2 separate regions of the Homo sapiens genome follow, and region 1 is linked to region 2. The links are contacts of gene promoters, found by promoter capture Hi-C in human tissues and cell types (Jung and others, 2019). All regions are on one chromosome and are shown on one strand. The core of a region is centred on a gene start or on the middle of the fragment in contact, and the rest is flanking DNA. Distances in the headings are between cores, read along the strand shown. Region 1 overlaps LOC107983974 (a long non-coding RNA gene). Region 2 holds the start of RGMA (repulsive guidance molecule BMP co-receptor a).

Region 1 (4,909 bases), core at 2,041-4,540, 510 kb before region 2:
CACCCAGGCTGGAGTGCAGTGGCATGATCACAGCTCACTGCAGCCTTGACCTCCTAGGCTCAAGCCATCCTCCCACCACCACCTCCAGAGTAGCTGGGACTACAGGGGAATAGCACCATGCCTGGCTAATTTCTGTATTTTTTGTAGAGACAGGGTTTCACCACATTGCCCAGGATGGTGTCAAACTCCCAGGCTCAAGCAATCTGCCCACCTCGGCCTCCCAAAGTGCTGAGTTTACAGACATGCGCCACTGTGCCCAGCCTTAACTTAAAATAACAAAAGAATTTTAAAGCCAACTGTCAATTTCCCCTTTATAATTCCTCATTTATGATTTACCTATTACAGTTAAATAAAATTCTTAAAATATAAACAAAACATCCTGCAGTCCAGTAACAATTGTATGTAGGAGAGCAATCAAATGAATCATTTCCACTGTCTCGCTGTTTGGATGCTAAAATCCATATCACTCAGTAAATATAACATACGTCTATAGTTCACTTGTTATCAAATATTGTCAGCAAATGTCCCTAGAAGGATCAAGCAGGGACCCTTCAATGTTGCACAGACCATTTGGATGAAGACCCCCTAACTTCCTGTAAGACATATGATTGCCTTCCCCACCACAGGTATAACAGATCCTTGGACCAAATGTGACCACAATTACAGTGGGGTATGGTCCTCTGCTTAAACACTGGCTTTTGCCAGCCTCACTGGAAAGCTATGATGACCCTGTATCTGAATCCTTTTACCCAGGATCTAAACTGGCATAGTGGGTGGGCTTCGGGCTAGACCTTGCTCTTCTTTCTACCTGGTCCTGGCTGCAGGGACAGACATCTGCCTCTGGCCTGAAACTGGAGTTATCACACACAAGAAATTCTCCCAATTGGCCTGAGAGCTCTGAGGCTACTGAAGATGAAAATAAAAAATTAGGAAGCCCAGTCATCTTTCATCCACCAGAGATGAGATGTGGCAGTTTTCAGTAGTTGGTGATGGGCTAATTCAGAACTTGACTTTCACATAGAGATAACATGAGAATGAAAATACCACCATTGTACAGATAAAAACAAAATATTTTTAAAAAGGTGACAGTGCAATGTGCCCTATGTTTAGGGTCAGGACTCCTGAGTTTGAGAGCTCAGCTCTATCTCTGATTACCTGTGTCACTTTAGGCCGGCCACCTGTGCAGCTTTCCCAGCCTATTGTTTTTAAGTGAAACTTAGACATACCAACACCTTTCCCAACAGATTCCACAGGGATTTGTAATGATTAGCAAATGTGATAATACCAGAAAACATTCTGCAAAACAAAATTGTATGCAAATGTGCTGTTTTGTTACAAATGAAAACATGAAGACAAGCGTGTAAAAATGAATGGAGACTGGAGGAAGCCTCAGGGGCTCACAGCAACAACGTTCCTGGAAGGCAAAAGGCTTCAAGTGTTCTTCAGTGTTAAACACTTGGGATAGATTCAGGAGAAGGGCATTCAAAGTCGTCTCTTTTTGGGGAGGTGGGAAGGCAGATGGGGACCACCAGGAGGAAAGAATGCAGCTGAAGAAATTTACACAAGAAGGAGCCAAATGAACTGCTTTAAAACCTTCCTTACGGTGGCTCTCCCTATATGGACAGTGATCAAACTTCCCAGTTTGCCCAGACCTGAGGGGTTTTCTGGAACCTGGAATTTTCAATACTAAAACCAGGACAGTTCCAGGCAGCCAAGATGAATTGGTCAGCCTACTATACTTACCCCGCTCCTGTTGGTGAAATCCCTGTACCCTTCATTCTTGGGGTGTGGTGGTATTTCTCTACCAAACTACACTTTGTCTTCTCTCTTTTTAAAGCTGTTTCATCTTTTTCACTTGTCTAATGTTTCCACCGAGCATGCAGAGGGATAGGAAAAACCAAGTGGCCTCTGTTTCTTAGTAGTCTGCTGGTGCCTATAGAAATATTTTGTTTCTATTAAGCTTTTCTCCAGTTTACTTCTAAAGGAAAGTAGCAGAACAAGGCAGCCCACCCCAAAATGAGAGTTTTACCATTTCATTCCACATGCTCCCAATAGACACTGTTTTTAGGAGAAAATATGCTTTCTCCTGATTCTACAAACATGATGGGAAATGTTTCTCTCTGAATAGCTGCTGTGGCCTGGATCTGCTGGTGATGTTATCTGCTTAAACAATTACTTTTGCTGGAAGGAGAGTTGATTGGGTGCATAAAGATACTTCAGATAGGCTTTTGGTTCTTGAAAACCAGTGGTCATGGCCATCTCCTTAGCCAGCTAAGGGCACTGGATGTCCCTCTCCAGAGCCCACCGTGCAACAGCAGAAGGGATACAGCCAAGCCGAATTACAGCAATTACTCTCCATTTTTACTCAAATGTAATTTACCTCCACTCACATTCATCAGCTTTGACAAACAAACCACTGTTCTTCATCTCTGAGCGATCAGAGCCTGTTGGGGAGAGGAAGAGAGACACCTTCCCCTCCACACATACCCATAATTAACCAGTTAAGGCAGACAGTGGCGGGCTATAGAATTTTGCTACTGAAGTGTGGTCCCTAAGGACAGCATCAGCATCATTTGGATGCTTCCTAGACATGCATTGTCTCCAGCCCACCCCAGATCGAGTCAGAATCTGCATTTCAACATGCTCTGCAGGTGATTCCTGTTCACTCTAAAGTCTGAGAAGCACAGAAAATGGGAAATCAATGTGCTTGCACTGGGAAGGAGGAATACATGCTAGCGGGGAGGAGCCTTCCTGAAGGATGGATGAAGGAACCCCAAAAGCAGTGACGTGATCCCAGGGGAATAGCAGATGGTCACAGAGAGCAGGGAAACGCCTGAAAGAACTGGAGCTTAGGGTCGAGACTGAGATGAGTATGAGACCAGGTTCATTAAACGGGTTAAATGCCCAGCTGGCAATCTGGACTTAGTCTGAAGAAATAAGGAAAAAAATCAGTGACTGTTTTGAGGAAGAAATGCTGTGTTCAGCTCTGTGCTTTAAAAGTGCAACCCCAGCTACTGCGTGAAGGAGGGGAGAAGGGAAGTGAGGGGAGAAAAGAGAAGCATCAAGACAAGCACTTTGAAATAGCATCATACTCTACTCCCCACCAAGGGAGTCTGCAAGTAGTATAGATCCCTAAGTGCCCCCTGGACCTACCCACCAAATAAGCTGCAGCCCACTAACGCCTAGGAACACTACTGAGAGAATGATTAATCGTTAAGCCCAGCATATTGGTGTTTATCTTTAAGGATAAAATTACCATTTCTTTCCCTTGAGGCAGCTCTGATTCAGGAACTTAGTGGGTTGAATGGTGTCTCCCAGAAAGATAAGTCCACGTGCTAACCCTGGAAACTGTGTATATAACCTTACTTGGAAAACAGGTCTTTGTAGATGTAATTATCCTGGATTATAAGATGAACCCTGAATCCAGTGATGTGTCCTTATGAAAGACAGAAAAGAAATGTCCTTATAAAAGATAGAAAAATAAATAAATGAATAAATAAAAGATAGAAAAGAAGTGTCCTTATAAAAGATAGAAAAGAAGCGTCCTTGTAAAAGACAGAAAAGAAGACGTGAACATAGAGTGAGAAAAGAAGGAAGCCATGCGAGGGTAGAGGCAGAACTTAGAGTTATGCAGCCACAAGCCCTCAGAAGCTGGAAGAGAGAGGGAAGGATTCTCTTGTAGAGGCTGCAAAGGGAAGATGGCCCTACCGACACCATGATTTTTGACTTCTGCCCTCCAGAACCGTGGCAGGATATGTTTCTGTTATAAGCCCCCAATCTGTATTAATTTGTTATGGCAGCCCTACAAAACTACCACAGGGAATGACTGAGGCTTTTGGATTTCATGTGCAAATGATACTTAAAAATTAGCCCTGTCTAAACGATGACAATGATAACAGTGGTGAACGACAACAGTTCAAATTATAATAATGGTGCCCATACTTGGGCTTAGCATGCTTCTGTATCTATCTCTGTCCTGAGCCACTTTTTCACAGTTATGATTGCACAGAACCATCTGTGTTCTCTTTCCTTCCTTGTTCCTCCTAACACGTGGCTAATGATGCATCATCGGTCAGCATTTCCCAACTGATAGGCAAAAGAATGCACATCCCCCTCCCCACATATCTACATCCTCATCCCAGAACCTGTGACTGTGTTACCTGTTATGGCAAAAGAATGTTGCCTGTGTAAGACTTTGAGATGGGAGAAATTATCCTGCATTATCCACTAATGTAACACTAGTAGCACTAATGTAATTATAGGGGCTTTCTAAAGAAACGGAGAAACAGGAGATGTACGACTGAAGCAGAAATTAGAATAATGCTAAGTTCTGATCCAAGAACTGTGGCAGCTTCTAGAAGGTGGAAAGGGCCAGGAAATGAATTCTCCCTTAAAACCTCCAGAAGGCCTGCAGCTCTGCCAACTCATTTGGGCTTCTGACCCTCCAGAACCATAAGATAATAAATGTGTGTTGCTTCAAGTCACAAAGTTTGTGGCAATTTTTTATGCAACAATGCCCTGTAGTCCTAGCTATTGGGGAGGCTGAGGTAGGATAATCACTTGAGTCTAGGAGTTCAAGGCTGCCATGAGCTGTGATTGAGTCACTGCACTCCATGCTGTGGATGGGGACAAAGCAAGACCCTATCTCAAAAAAAAAAAAAAAAAGAAAAAGAAAAGAAAAGAAAACATATATATACCATTTTTTTCACTGTGCCTCCTTAATGGAAAAAAAAATTTTTTTTTTTTTGAGACAGAGTCTCACACTGTCACCCAGACTGGAGTGCAGTGGTGCCATCTCAGCTCACTGCAACCTCCATCTCCCAGGTACAAGCAATTCTCCTGCCTCAGCCTCCCCAGTAGCTGGGATTACGGTGCCCACCACCACAACCAGCTAGTTTTTGTATTTTTA
Region 2 (5,051 bases), core at 618-3,117:
GCTACCTCCACGGCCCTTGATTGAGCTGAGAATTGTCTGTCCTTATCTAGACAGTGGATTGTTTGTCCCCCACCATGGGAAAACCCTGCTGGTTACTTTCCAAAGGCCTCATTTTAAAAAGACACGTTTCCACTTACAGACCTTTTAAAAATGCCAGGCAATTTGGAAGAACAGTAAGAAATCTACTATCTGCGTGACAGTCATTCAGAGATTCTTGTAGTGTGCCAGGCACCATATTAAGTGCTAGGAATGCAATGATGACTCCAAGGAGTCCTGGTTCCTGCCCTCATGATGCTTATGGTACGGTGGGAGAGGCCAACATGTAGGGAAAGGTCACTCTAATGAGCGCCTAATTACCGAGTGAGCTCAGTGTTAGGAAGGAAAGGCACGGATGTGAGGACTCCCTAGAGGGTGGGGAAGATGTTGGAGCTGAGCTATGAAAGATGAAGAAATTGGTTATTCACTGAATGTCAGGGCACAGAATGTCAGGGCAGGAAGACCACACACACACACACACACACACACACACACACACACACACACACCCTACTATTCATAGATGAGGAAACTGAGGCCCAGCAGAGCTAGATGACTTGCCGAAGGTCAGAGCTAATTCTAGAAACCCATCCCCAATCCCTTCCTGCTAAACCACTTAATTTTATTTATATCCCAGCTATAGATTATACAAATACACTTGACAAATAAAACGGAGAATATTGAGTTAAAACCACATCTCTGAAGACCACACGCATAAATAACGATCGTGTTTTAATGCGGACGATACCTTTTCATTTTGCAAATCCAGAGTTCTCATCATATCAAAATTCAAGACAGTTTGTTCTGTAAGAAGGGGAAGGTCATAACCCTGTCTAGAATGTACTGGCAAATCTCTCTAACCGTGCAGTGCTAATTTGGGCCTGAGCTGTGTAACCAGACCGACTTCACGCTCCAGCTGGGGTTTCAGATCCACACATGGCGATTGGGTGGCTCTTTGCTGTTTCACAGCAAGGGTCCTTCCCTGGGCTCCCGGAGCCTCTGGGGATTTACTGCTCCCGACGTGGCCGTGTTCAAGCCACTGTGTGCATGCGCTTAATGTTGAAAACATTCTTTTGAAAAGCCCAGGAGATTCCACTCGCAATCTGTGCGTGTGCATGTAAAAGCGCAGAGACTGGAAAGAACCGCGGCAGAGCACACCCTGACCGAAGGTTACCGCGGGGGAGCCGCGGCCGTGGGAGAGCCGCGGCCGTGGGAGGGAGTGCGATACGGTCTTTTCACTCTAGACACTCCTGAGTTATGTACAATTCTACGCAAGAATGTATGCGTGTGTTAGCATGTAATACATATGTATTAGTTTTTTCAGGAAGATTCTTAAACAACAACAAAATCTCTATAGAACAAAGGTGCGTCTCCGCAGAGCGCAACAGCATTTGTCTTGGATGTAACCGCCTTCTCCAGAAATCTCAGAGGAACTCCCCTCGACCACCGCCTAACTGAAGGACACCGTGCGCTCCACCGCAACCCTGCGGGCGATTCGGAAAGTTGGAGGCGCCCCGGGGAGTCGCCGCACTTGCCGCCCGCGCCCCCTAACCTGAGCATTCAAGGAGTCTTGACTTGGCCGCTGGCGCACTCCGCACCCACCCAGCCGGTGCTGATGCGGGAGGGTGGGGCCGCGGCGGGGCGGGGCAACGCGAGCCCGCACCCCGCTCCTCCCCGCCCCTCCCTGCCGGCCCCGCCCGCGCGCGCCCCCCGCCCGCGGCCCGGGCGCCCGGCCCGCCCCCTCCCCTCGGCGCGCAAACGAACCTCGCGACGCCGCGCTCGGCGGCGGGCGGGGGCCGGGCGAGGGAGGGGGCTGGTCCCGGCCGCCCCACTCTGCAGTTGTCTCCCGAGCGCTGGCTGCGCCGCCCGAGCCGCTGGGCCGGGGAAGCACTGGCCGTTCGCTCCCGGGCCGGCTCCGCCAGGCGCTCGCAGGCATGCAGCCCGGGAGCAGGAGGCGCTCCCCGGGCCGCTGCTGAGCCGGCCGGGGCGGCGGGGACCAGCGCCAGCGGAGCCCCTCCCACCTTGCCCCGGGGCAGACGAGCGGCGCCCCGACACCCCCTCTTCTCCCGCAGCCCCGCCAGCGCCACCCCCCGCGGGCCGCAGGGGCTCATGCAGCCGCCAAGGTAAGCGCGGGTCGGGAGCCGGGCAGACCCGGCTCTGACATCTCCGAGGCGCCGCCGACACATGCCGGGGCCACGGCGCTGCTTTGGTCTTCCTTAGCCCCGCGTCTCATCTTGCTCCCATCTTGCCCACATTTGGAGCTTTGCTGCGCCTCTATCGCTTTAGCTGTTGGCAGCAGGAAAGTTTTTGTGGTTTGGTGTTTGTTCTTTTTTCCTAAAATACTCTCCCCCGGGCAGCCGCCAGCGCGCGTGGTTGGGCAGACCCGGCACACGTCCCTTACACCGTGTGCGGGCTGGGAGCTCCTTCCCTCAGCCCGGCTCGCGGAGCCCCGGACGGAGCCGGCCACCCGACTGTCCCGCCGTGAACCCCCATTGGCCCGCGCCGCCCGGGCCCCCGCCTCCCGCTCGACGCCCGGCTGCGGAGCTGCCTGGCCATCTCCTGCCCTCGGGGATGTCGGCGCAGTGCACCGCGTGGGCTCGCGTCCCGGCGGCCCTTTGCCTCGGCGCGCCGGCGTACGGGAAGGTGCGGACCTTGGATTGAGGGCCGAGGATGCCCATTGCCAAGCCGCCCCGGCTTTCCTAAGTGGACGGGAGGGCACGGCGACGATTCAGCGCCGGCTCGCGCCGCAGCTCAACCCAGGGTACAAGCCCGGGCATGGGGGACAGGTGTATTCAATGGGAGGGCGGGTGTGGGGGACGCTCGGGTGCAATTCGGGATTGCGTCTTATTAATGTAATTGTATTAGACTTGCTCGGAGGTAGAATCAGTTCTCCCAAATTGAGATTTCTAATGGGAGCCTGTGAGCTGCTATTATGTGGTGTGGTTTTGGGAGGTGTTGGGTTGTATTTATTTTATAAATTGGGTGTCTCGCGGGCGGAGTAGGGGAAGTAGCGCCATCTAGCGGAAGTGGTGAGCTGTGCATTCCTCTTAGGCTGCGAAGTTGTTGGGTGTTCTCAAAGTAGTCTCCCGCACAAGGTGGAGAGGCGGGAACCAGCCCTCGCCTCCAGGAAGGAGGCTACAGAAGCTCTCTGAGTATCGACGGTACCAGGGAGAACCCCGACCTCCCATGCTCAGCACATTGAGCTCAGGGGACGAAATTGCGGGTCGTGTTGAGTGGCATGCTGTCACCTAAAGGAGCTCCATCACCTTCTCTGTTTGGTTTTAGACTCTTCCAGCAAAAACGTAATATAAAATGTTAACTGCTGTAAGAAGATGCCCCTTCCGCAGGTATCTGGTGCAGAGATCTTGAAAACCAATGCACAAACCTCTGTCTTCTCCTGTGCATCACAAACGGGTGATTTCTTGGGTGGATTTTGAGCCATGACCCCTAGAAAAGAGAGTAACTGTGCTCCGAAGGGCAACAGGAGGAGAACTGGGAGAGGGCCTCCTGCCCATTTGTGCAGGAACAGAATAGTGTACCCAAACTGGGTTTTGTGGTTTTTTTTTTTTTTTTTTTTGCACATACAAAGAAGGGGTTTCTTGCTGTTACCACAGCAAGTGACAAGCAAGCCCCCTTTACAGGGACATGATCTCCAATTAACAACTGGGGCAGACGTGGCTGGATGGCAAGTTCTGCAGACAAAGGCTCTGGGTGGGGCACCCACACATCCAGGCGGGCTCCACGTTCTCTGTGGCTGGTTTTTGCTGCCACCTTCCAGGCCAGATAATATATTAGCAGTGAGCTGGGCTCACCCGGTTCTGAAGGGCACCCTGGCCCCTTGTAGAGCAGTGTAGTGGTCTACTGTAGTACCCCCTTGAGACTCTCTGGGCTGTGCTGGTAGTGAAAGAGGTCTTAGCCTCCTTTTTTCAAGTACCCTGCTTCCATTATTTCCCTCCCAGGTGTCAGACAGTTGCTTACATTCTCCAATAGACATATGAAATGGTGGGTGGCTGGTCTGCCCCGTCATGCTGTCTCAAACTGTGTCTCCATTGGTAGGTATTTATGTCATCATGAGACTTGTGACAGACGAGGTCTTAGAATAGCTTGGCATCTCATTCAAGGAGGGCACCTTTGACTTTTGCTAAGAAACCTCTGCCTGCTTTCTCTTTTTACAAACCTCCTCCAAGGAATAACTTGCTGCTTCCCAGTGTATGTAATAATAGACAATAAAGGCACAAGAATCTCCTTTTTAATACAATCCCTTGCTCTTCAGCAGCCCTGTGAGAAGCCAAGCCCAAGAATTCTTAGACGAGCAGTTGCAAAATGAAATAAATAGGGACTGAGCATCCCTGACACTGGGACAGGGAGTTTTTCAGCCATTCTTCCAGGGATGCTTGCTGCTCCCAGGAAGCAGGCAGGAATGGGTGCTGGTATTTTCAGTTTCTCAGAAGAAACTGATGGCCAGAAAGCAGAAGGGATATGGCCAGTGTTCTGTGAGTCTAAAGTGCGTTTTTCCCCCTACAACCTTGCTACCAAATGAATTAAGTTCTAGCGCTTGTTTTTACCAAGTATGGTTGCAAAATTTGTTCCTGCCTTGAAGCATGCAGTATAGACATGAAAGAAGGCACGGTCACCGATCCATCAAGAAGCCTGCCATCCAGGGAAAGAGGCAGGAAGTATCCAAGTGCAATTGAGCAAAAACATAGAAGGATTATCTGAAAGCAGCGCAGGCAAATTGGAATCTGTTAGTTCTGTGAAACGAAATGACACTACTCCTTACAGGTAATTATTCTAGAACTTGACTTATAACATCCCAAAGGTAAGTTTAGTTAACTTTTAAGTGTCTGTGGTGTTCCTGTGGCTCTTTTAGGGAATGGCTTTGCTTCCATTATGTAGCCATTCCACAAACTTAACTGAACATAAATTTAACCTGAAGAAGGGAAGCTCCAGGTTTCCCCACCTGTTTGGTATCCAGCCTATCCAAAAGACAGGCTCCTCTTTTTCTTATTTTGAGC

The links. Contacts are between HindIII fragments. The study calls those that stand out against the background at their distance.
Region 1: a contact is called between a fragment that was not itself captured here and the fragment with the promoter of RGMA in region 2, in 2 of the 25 tissues and cell types used here (H1 embryonic stem cells and dorsolateral prefrontal cortex).

The regions. Positions count from the first base shown.
Region 1 is chr15:93,601,020-93,605,928 of GRCh38, reverse strand. All of the region lies in intron 5 of LOC107983974 (a long non-coding RNA gene), which reads right to left. Among named protein-coding and RNA genes, the nearest start is that of LINC02207, 250 kb to the left of the region's middle. The HindIII fragment of the contact is 6,387 bases long and covers 97-4,909 here.
Region 2 is chr15:93,086,027-93,091,077 of GRCh38, reverse strand. It overlaps RGMA (repulsive guidance molecule BMP co-receptor a), which reads left to right and starts at 1,867. Exons shown (of 4, transcript NM_020211.3): 1 at 1,867-2,159. The coding sequence starts at 2,146. LOC101927025 (a long non-coding RNA gene) reads right to left here and starts at 1,864. Exons shown (of 5, transcript XR_007064769.1): 1 at 1,801-1,864. The HindIII fragment of the contact is 13,871 bases long and covers 1-5,051 here.